Linked DNA regions of Homo sapiens: region 2 is linked to region 1. Evidence: promoter capture Hi-C in human tissues and cell types (Jung and others, 2019). All regions are on one chromosome and are shown on one strand. Each heading gives the region's core, a stretch centred on a gene start or on the middle of the fragment in contact. The rest is flanking DNA. Distances are from core to core; before and after follow the strand shown. Region 1 holds the start of EYA2 (EYA transcriptional coactivator and phosphatase 2). Region 2 has its middle 63 kb from the start of EYA2.

The links. The method cuts DNA at HindIII sites, captures the fragments that hold promoters and counts their contacts. A contact is called where the count stands out against the background at its distance.
Region 2: a fragment that was not itself captured here is called in contact with the fragment with the promoter of EYA2 in region 1 in 6 of the 25 tissues and cell types used here (IMR-90 fibroblasts, lymphoblastoid cells, neural progenitor cells and 3 more).

Annotation. Positions count from the first base shown.
Region 1 is chr20:46,892,506-46,897,634 of GRCh38, forward strand. EYA2 (EYA transcriptional coactivator and phosphatase 2) reads left to right here and starts at 2,338. Exons shown (of 16, transcript NM_005244.5): 1 at 2,338-2,482. The HindIII fragment of the contact is 22,949 bases long and covers 1-5,129 here.
Region 2 is chr20:46,829,615-46,834,649 of GRCh38, forward strand. No RefSeq gene overlaps it. Among named protein-coding and RNA genes, the nearest start is that of EYA2, 63 kb to the right of the region's middle. The HindIII fragment of the contact is 8,791 bases long and covers 1-5,035 here.

The sequences.
Region 1 (5,129 bases), core at 1,088-3,587:
TATGTATAGGTATGTATATATATTCTTACTGCATACAATTCACTTGATATTTCCTATTCCAGTCTATTCCTTTAGGAAAAAAAAATTAAGGTTCACAGGCCAAGACAAATTAAACACCTCTGAAGGTCATTAAGATGCTCAATTTATAATGACTTGGAGCACTTAGCAAAGATACTATGGGAAGTGAAGCTGTGTGTACAGTAATAATATTTGTTGAGCAATTGCTAGTGCCAGCTGCAGTCATAGTAGAAAGTGTTTTATGAGCATGAGCTCCATGAATTTTCACAATAATAGTATAAGATGAGTACTGTTATTTTCACTTTAGTGATGAGAAAATCAAGGCCAAGTACATATGTACATTCTGCCTCTAGAAGACAGAAGCAGAGCCATCTCCAAGCCTACTGCGGCAGGCCCAGAGAAGAGAACAACCATGTTTACTGAATACATTTGCTTCTGTCTGAAGTTTGGGGAGTAGAAAGCGGAGTAAGCTATGACCAGAGGTGGGTCTGGGAATGGTGAGGCCTGATACATGTATAATTTGCAGCCCCTATTCAAGAAAAAGAGTACAAAATTATGAGTCCAAGATTAGATAAGAAAATGATTATTTCTTTAAATTAAGAAAAGAAATCACAACAAATTCAAATTTTAAGAAGCTGAAAATTACCACAAACATCACAAAATTCCCAACTCAACTTTCCTCCAAAATGCCAGCAGCCACCTGACACCACCCTACTCAAGGGCAAGTTGGGGGTGGGGAATCGGAGTGGAAAGACAGCGGTGTCTACGGCCTGCAGCCAAATGTCCAAAGCAAAGGACTTTTGTAAACTTTACATCAACAAGCCACCATCTGAACACTTTTCTAAGTCCCCTTAGAAAGGGGTCCAAGCAAGTCAGGGGCCCAAGAACTTAACCTTCATCAGCTCCTGTAAACTTACAACTGGAATTGAAGACTGTTACGGCTCAAGAGCAACGGCTTTGGAGTCAGCCAGGCCTGAATTTCATTCCTGGCTCAGCCACTTTCTGCCTTCTTTGAGCTTGGACCTGCTCATTTGTGAAATGAGTGTGCTGACAGCAGCTACCTTGGGGTCTCTCTTGGGGATTACATGAGATAAGGAAGAGTTGGGCATTGGATGAGCTTAAGGTTGCAAATAAAAATATAGGACCCCCGGTTACATTGGAATTTCGGAGACAAAAGAAATACTTTTTAAATATAAGTACGTACAACCAATCGCATAAGACATATACTGCAACTGATTCCTCGTTTCTCTGAAATTCAAATTCACCTGGGTGCCCTGTCTTTTACTGCACTTAAGAAATGACAGTGGTTGATATTGCTTTTGGATTGAAGCATCCTGGGTGTCCCACGGTGGAATTCATAGACATTAGAGAGTGGGTGACGGGCTAGGAAAGGCTGCATAGACTCCAATTAACACAGTTCATTGCCAGGGAGACTAAAAGGGGGGTGGCTATGAGAGGATGGAGTAAGTGGGGTGCCTTGATTTGGGCATGTAGGTGGAGGGGGCTATACCTCTCACTTTCACTAAACCAGTTAAGCTCTTGAGACCTCAGTTTCCTTAGCTGTAAAATGGGTGAAACATAGGGGAGACCCCTGAACCGTTCTCACCTAAATACCACACCAATGGCACTTCCTCATAATTCAGATGTCACCTCCTCAGAGAGGTCTTCCCTGACTGCTCTAGCTAAAATTACCGCCTCTCCTCCACTCCCCAACAGCAGATACATATATTATTTTTCTCCCTGTAACTCTAACTTTCTGAAACTGTCTTGCTTCTTTACTTGGTTATTTGTTTATGGTTTGCCTCTCCATGTGAATGCAAGTTCCGGGAGGGCAGAAAACTAGTCTGTCTTGTTCTAGCTGAGTCTCTCAGGAGTGGTACCTGGCACAGTAGATGCTCAATATATTTTGAATGAATGAATGGGTGGTTGAGTGAACGAATGTTAGTGTCACTATTGAGGTCCTCTCCGAGCCGTCGTTCCTTTCACAGGGGTCATGCCTGGGTTGCAGGGAGGATGTGCTGCCCCGGGGAGGGAGGAGGTGCGGGGTGTCGGTGGGTGGGGAGGAGGCTGGGCCCTGGCCTCCAGGACCGGCGAGAGTGAGCGCGCTCTGCTCGGCTGCAGGCTCAGGAAGCGGCGCGGCGGCACGTGCTGGGCCAGAGCCCCGCGCCCTGCGTCCAGCCGCCGGGTGTGTGCGCCCGCGTAGCCCAGCGTCGCGCCTCGGCGCCCCCACGCGCCCACGCAGCGGCGCGGGGACCCGGGCGGGGGCAGAGGGAGGGCCCGGCCCAGGGAGGAGAAGGGGCCGGTCCTCCCGGCGCAGGCAGCAGCCGCGGCAGCCCAGGAGGCGGAGGCAGCGGCAACGGCAGAGACAGCAACGTGCCCGCCGCAGTCAGCCCGGCCTCGTCGGACCCGCACCGGCCCGCCCGCCCGCCCGCACCGCGTCGGGGCGCCCTCTCCACTGCGCGCGGTGAGTACCGCCAGCGGCGCCCACCCCAGGCCGCCCGCCGGGATTCGCCGGGCGGGGGGAGTTGTTCACCGGGACCCCCTCGCCCTGCGCCTCTTTCTGGCACTCGCCAAGCGGGGCCTCCGCAGCTGTCGGGACGTTCTGGGGCGCACGGGCCTCCCAGGGCCAGGAAGGCACAAGGGCAGAGGGGACAGCAGCAGAGCCCCCCTCTGGAAAGGCTCTCCCAGGCTCGGGGCCCCAGTTTCCCCATGCGCTTTGGGGCAACGACCCTGAAGTTTGCTCTCCCGCGCGCGGGACAAGTGCATGGCGCGCAGGCGGTGTAGACGCGGCTGGGTCCTTGGCGTTTTGTTCGATTATGGTCCCGGCGGTTCGCGATAAGGGGCGCTCCCCCAGTCCGCAAACTCAAGCCCTCAGGTAGTGTTTATGGGATAACCAAGAAGCAGAGCCAACCGCTGGAATCCCGGCTTGGGGCTGGAACGGCCCGCTGAGACTTTGCCTTCTAGCTATTGATATATTTCTTTTCAAAAGTCCGTTTGCGCTCGGCCCGCTCTGGTTCAGGTCTGGGGCTTTGAACCGGGGCAGGGAATCCTGGCGCCTGCTGCGGGTAGAGTTGAAACTTAGAAAAGTTTACATCCGAAGGGTGTTTAGAAGGCGGCAAGGATTTCGTTGTAATGGGAGAAAGTGGGAAATGGAATTGTTTTTTAGTCATGAAGTCTGGAGGTTAAACGGCCGTGCTGGCCCAGGCTCCTTCAATATATTCCTGCCTGCCTCCCCCCCAGCAATAAATAGTTTATAAGCTCAAGGAATACTAGGAAAGCGTGACTGGTGAACGTACTCCTATCGCAAAAGACTCAGTGCGCTTTTCTCAGCTGTTGAACTGGAAGCGCCTTTTGCAGTGCGAGGTTCCTGCTTCCCCGAAGCCGAGGCTGAGAGTTGACAGCGTGCACCCTGCCGCGGTCTGAATTCTTTTTAAAAAGCAAGACCGATGCTGCGTTTTTATGGATACCCTTTTCTTTTCTTTCCCCTTCCCCGAAATGCTATGTAATCTTCAATTACTTTTTAAAATATAACGTGGAGGTATAAATCACCCCGGTAAGAGGTACCTTTTAATTACGAGGTGCAGTGGAAGAGCTGAACATTGGAATCTAGCTGTTAGCGAGGGCGGAGGGGCAGGAGGATGATTTACAAACATCATGTAAGAATTTGAGCACTGAATTATGTTTGAGTTAGGGAGATCCCTTACAAAGGAAATTATAACCAGTGGACAATTGTATTTCAAACCGAATCTATTAATTTCATGAGCCGTTTCTTGATTGAGTGAAATGTCTGTGACCATAATAGATACAGAACTAGTAAGCACCTTACCAGACTATGACCCATTTGTTAGCAACTAACATACACATGTAACCATCCTGCTTACAAAAAAAAAAAGAGGTACACAAAGAAAGAGTGGGAGGAGAGAACCTCTTTTTCAAAATAATCTTTGTGAAAGAATCTTTCACAATTTTACTCGATAAATAAATGTTCATTTTTTCCACTTGTCTTTCTTCATCACCTTAAGCCCCTTCATCCTTTACATATCTTTGCATTTAGACACTCTCACACTTGGGTAAGTTCTTCTATAATTTATATAACAAATAACAAATGATAGTGGTTTGAATCTTGCTTTTGACTAAGCATTAAATTGTGTTTGTATTAAAAAAAATCTCCTTGCCTTCGTAGCAAACTCTTAACTTTTGCCATTGTGAAAAGACCAATGTGGTTAGATGCAAAAGAGCCTGAACTTTTTTTTACTTTAAAGCAGTTTATATGTCCCCATTCTCTTGTAACTTCAGCTTCACAATATCATTCACTATTTTATCTGAAAGGAATTGGCATTTTTCTTTTCTGTCTTAAAATAGCTCACCTGGTGTTGTGACCATGTGTATGAGAATACTCTATAAACACACAAATCACTTCCCCAATATCAGAAAAACTAAAGGAAATATAAAATAAAATAAAAAGATGTGTATCTCAATACTTTAGGATTTTTTTAAAAAGTTTTCATCACGTAAGTTTTAGAATCTTCTTTTCATGTCTTTTGTTTTGCATTAAACACATCATAAAGAGGTATGATTTGTTGACTTGTTATAGGATTACCATTTGGCAAAAACGCCCAAGACACGCTGTTTCAAATATGTGGTATTACTTCTGCTTTAAATTGCGTGTAAGAGATTGCAAACCTTGTTCCAGATGGATAAATTGATAAAATGCTAGCTGCTGTTGGGAGAATGGAAAAGCCCTCAGCAAAAAGGCTCTGTGGTGTAGCTAAGTACATTTTGAATTAGGGTGAGCAAGCTATGGAGACCCCAGCCGTTTGTGAAAAAATATACACAGTCCAAGCACGTCCACTTTAAGACGTTGTTGGATCCTCCGTGACAAGATGACTCCTTTCCCACAAAGAAGAAACCGTTTCCTTATTTTTTCAGTTACTTTTCCAAAGACAACTTGCATCGGGCGCAAGAGAGCAGAGTTATGCAGAAATCCAACCGTAACCAGCTCAGAGCGAGGACTCATTCTCTCTCCTTCCACCAGATGTTTTTTAGGTGTCCTCAGCTGGAATGCCCAGTTTGAAACTAATTAGGCCAGCAGTAAACTCCTTGTATAATAA
Region 2 (5,035 bases), core at 473-2,972, 64 kb before region 1:
CTGAGACAGGAGAATCACTTGAACCCAGGCAGTGGAGGTTGCAGTGAGCCGAGATGCTGCCACTGCAGTCCAGCCTGGGCAAAAGAGCAAGACTCGTCTCAAAAAAAAAAAAAAGAAAAAGAAAAAGAAATGTGGGTTGTTTTAAGCTACTAAATTTGTGGCAGTTTGTTACAGCAACAACAGGAAAATAACAGATTCCCAAGAAACTGGTAACAATATTGTCTCTGGGGAGGGGGAATAGTTACTTAGTTGAGGGATGGAGTAGGATGATAGAGAGTAAAAAGAGCCTACTGTTTGAATTTTGAACCACTTGAATGTATTATTTTTAGCATAAATAAAATGCTTTGAATATTTGGGGCTTCCTTTTTTTTTTTTTAGACGAAATCTCACTCTGTCGCCCAGGCTGGAGTGCAGTGGTGCCATCTCAGCTCACTGCAACCTCCACCTGCTGGGTTCAAGCAATTCTCCTGCCTCAGCCTCCCGAGTAGCTGGGACTGCAGGCATGCACCACCATGCCCTGATAATTTTTGTATTTTTATTAGAGACAGGGTCTCACCACGTTAGCCAGGCGGGTTTCAAACTCCTGGCCTCAAGTGATACTTCTGCCTCAGTCTCCCAATGTGCTGGGATTACAGGGGTGAGCTACCGTGCCCAGCCTAAGAAGTCTTATAAGACTTTTTTTCCCTTAGTTCCACCTCCTCCCCCATGAAATTTTAATACCACAGATATACTCTATCTCATTTTATGAAATGTATATCTGTGTTTTATATATAAAAAGAATATGTGTGTTTTTATGGCCCCAAGAATCAGCTTTTAACCCCTTGGGGGCCATACTCCCTCTGCCCCTGCCACACACACACACTGAGTATGCACAATTGGGGTAAAAAAAAATCACATTATTTTATGTCTGAAGTACAGATATACATTCAGTACCTAAAGAGATATACAAAATATTTGTGGATTAAGATTTCATGGTGGGAGGTGATTAAGAAAAAAAAAAAAGCCTAAAAAACCTCCTTAGGAGAGTAATAAATTTTAAAAGATTATAGAAGGTTGAGAAACTGTGATCTAAACAGGTGGTTTGGAATTGCCCAGTGGGGCCCACATAGAATCGGAAGTGTGGCAAATGTCACAGCAGGGATGGGTAGTGTCTTAGAGGGGCACTAGTGGGAAACAGGGACCTTGTCTCCCACTGGCCCTGAACATAGCGGGTAACCCAGAACCACACTGTCACTAAAGCCGACACCTCAAAGTGGCTCACTGATATGCTTATTTGAACCACTAAACTTTTTTTTAAGAATCTGGAAATTTCACATAAAATATGGACTTATGGCTCTCTTGAAAAATTCGAAGACCTAATGACACTGGAGCCACATTTCTGCATATTAACAATTAACATAGCCGGGTATGGCAGCCCACACCTGTAATCCCAGCACTTTCAGAGGCTGAGGCAGAGGGATCGCCTGAGGCCAGGAGTTTGAGACCAGCCTGGCCAACATGGTGAGGCCCTATGTCTAAAAAATATTTTAAAAATTAGCAGGGTGTGGTGGTGCATGCCTGTGGTCCCAGCTACTAGGGAGACAGAGGTGAGAGGATCACTTGAGTCCAGGAGTTGGAGGTTATAGTAAGCCATCACACCATTGCACTCCAGCCTGGGTGACAGAGCAAGACTGAGGAAGAGAGAGAGAGAGATAAGAAAGAAAGAGGCATATTTAACTTATTTACCTTCCCTCTCTGGCCCCAGCACTGGAGCAGAGCAGAAGGAAGGAACTATGGGATAGAATGCAATTTCTTTCCTATCCTTATATCTATTTATCAAGGAGACTTCAACAAACAACAATAAAAACTTTATTGAACACTTGACTGTGCACCCGGTACTGTACTAAGAACTGAGTTTCGTTGTCTAGTCTAACTGTCCCCAGATCTCTCTGGAGTGTACATAATCATCTTCATTTTCCTGATCAGCAACCCCAGACTCAGAAAGGTAAAGTAACTCGCCCAAGGTCACACAGCAGTGGCACACTTTAGTTATTATTTCTGTATAAAAACTACACCAAACTTAGTGACATGAAACAACCATTCCATTGTCCTCAAGTTTACTATGAGTTGGGGATTCAGAAGGGACATAGCGGGGATGGCTTCTCTGTGCTCTGCAGTGTCTGGGACCTCACATGAGAAGACTTGAAGGCTAGAGATGAGTCAACAGCAAGAATCTAAAAATCACTCACAAATCTGGCACCTGAAAAAAGATGACTCTAACACTAAACTCAGCTGGGACTGCCAACTGACCAGATCACCTACACACGGCCTCCCCATCTGGCCACAGCCTCTCCATGTGCTTGGGCTTCCTCACAACATGGAAGCCTCAGGGCACTTCTTACATGATGGCTTAAACTCCAGCAAGAATGTTCCAGCAAACAAAAGGGAACAGCACTGCCTTTTCTGACCTAGCCTTGGAAGTCCCATAGTTAACTTCTGCCACATTCCACTGGTTACAAGCAAGTCACCCAGATTCAAAAGAAGGGGACATAGACCCCAACTCTAGACGGAAGGAGGCTCCATTGCAGAAGAGCACATGGAATGGAAGATATTGTTGCAGCCATCCTGCAAAATATGATCTGCCACATGGCAGAACCAGGACACAAACTCAGGCAGATGGCTCCGGAGACACTGTTGTTAACCACTAACTACGTTCTACAGGTGGTTATGAGAATTAAGTGAGATAATACATGCAAAGTGCTCAGGACAGGGAATGGCACATCATATCGAATTCAATACATATTGCTTTCCTGACTTCATGCACTCTCTTTGCCTCTACACCCGTGCATAACCTCACCTATGAAGTGCCTGGCTACGTGCATCTGGAAACCTGGCATCCAGTGAGCTAACTCAGGAGAAAGACTGAACTCAGCCTACCCCCCACCATAGCTCTGGGTGAGAATTTCTCTGAGGACTCCGTGGAGGAGGCCTTGTCTCGCCCACTCTGTGGCTTGGCCATGTCTCTAAAACCCAGGCAGGGCCAGAGAGCTGTGCCCCAGCCCCAGCAGATGACCCAGGGGACTGAAGTTCAGAGTTGAAGAGTTCAGACCCTGCACAGTTCATGAATGTTCCTGGGCCCCAAAGAGTAACTGGAGAAATTGTTTGTATCAGTGAGGAATGACTTAACTCTTGGCAAATCCTAGAAAACAGCCTTTCTTCCTGTTTCTAGAGGCCTTCCAAAGAAAAGAAACAGTTTAGATTTTGCTCAGCTCTGTGGTTGACTACGGACTCCCACCCCATGGGGGACCCATGGGTGAGGTCCCAGCTCCCAGGAGCAGGGGAGGGAGCATTCTGGGAGTGCAAACCAAACTATTTGGTTCTCTGGCCAATGGGGCCTCTAAGTTGGCTTCAGAGACCACTGAGGGATGGGAGTGTCATCAACACAGATCCCAGAATCTCTCCTCTAAGCTTTACCTTCCATTCAAGCCGGGCTGGGATCCTCACTACCCCAATTCGCCTCACCCCATTCCCTCCCACCGCCTGCCCTTTGCGAGTGTTGAGCCGCCCTCCTGGAACACCTTCCTTCCCATGGCCAAGCAAACTCATCTGCATTTTCAATACCCAGGTGGAGCTCTACCTCAACCATGAGAAATCTTCCCCGAAAACCATGGCTCAACAACAGTTTTATTTCTCTCCCTGAACTTGCAACGCAATTTACTTCTTCATTCATGAATGCAATAGGTCATTTTTAGGGAAGGCGTTCTCAAGGCCTTTGGCCTCATTACCTGCTTGACGCTCTTAAAAATTATAGAAGACCTCAAAGAGTTTTTGTTTATGTGGCTTTTGTCTGTTGCTTTTTACCATAATAGGAATTTACCCTGAGAAATTTTAAAACTATTTATTCATTCATTCACGTGAAAAGAACAAGAACAAACCCATTACATGTTAATATCAGGAGGATGACATCACCACATGTCATGAAGCCTCTGGAAAACCCCACTGCGCACTTGTGAGAGATGAGAGTTTGAAAAGGCAAATCACATCTTTTGTTATATCAAAACAAAAATAGCTTTGATCTCATGGATTCCCTGAAGGGCCCCACAGATTATTTTGAGAATTACTGTCTAAGGCTATTTAGAGGCACCAGGTTTTCTCTGTCTCTCTCTCATCTCTATCTCTTTCTCTCCCTTTTTTGATAACTTACTATCTCTGTCTCTATCTCAATCTTTGTCTGTCTCCACGTAAGCCTTCTTCTCTTTCATCCATCACTGACTTTTTGGTATAACTTTAGTATTTACTTTACTGGTACTTGTTAACATTTTAAAAAATTAAATAGATAAGGATAGGAAAGGAAAAGAAATTAGGAGGTCAAGGCAGGAGGTCTTGAGCCCAGGAGTTCAAGACCAGTCTGGGCAACACAGTAAGACCCTGTCTCTACAAAACAGAAAACAAAAATTTGGCGAGGCAAGGCGGTGGCGTGTGCCTGTAGTGCCAGCTACTCCGGAGGCTGAGGTGGGAGCATCGCTTGAGCCTGGTAGGTCGAGGTTGCAGTGAGCCACGATTGTACCACTGCACTCCAGCCTAGGCCAAAGATTGAAACCCCATCTCTAAAAAACACAAAGAAAAAAAGAGAGAAAAGGAAAGGAAAAATCAGCGTGCAAAGCACAGACTCTTAGTAAAGACTGTGCATATCACCATAAATATTTTTGTTATACATTGTTCCAGATACAGAGAAGGATGTAGATATAGGTGTAGATATAAATATGAATGTGAATGTGGGTATGTATTTGTTATTATAGGCTGTGGTCAGAAGATTTTGAAAACAGTATAATAGAAGACCTTTTATGGAGATTTCTCAGGATAAGACAATGTTTAGCAAAATGTGGGGCATTCTCTCCTAGTGGTATGGGAAACAATGTTTTGGTTGCATACTGCATATGCATATGATATTAAACAACAATAGTATATTAACATCAACATTAAATAACATTAATAATCCCTGTTCAGTTGTCTTTTAGCTACTCTGATTACAACGAGGAGGAAGTCTCACTTGGTG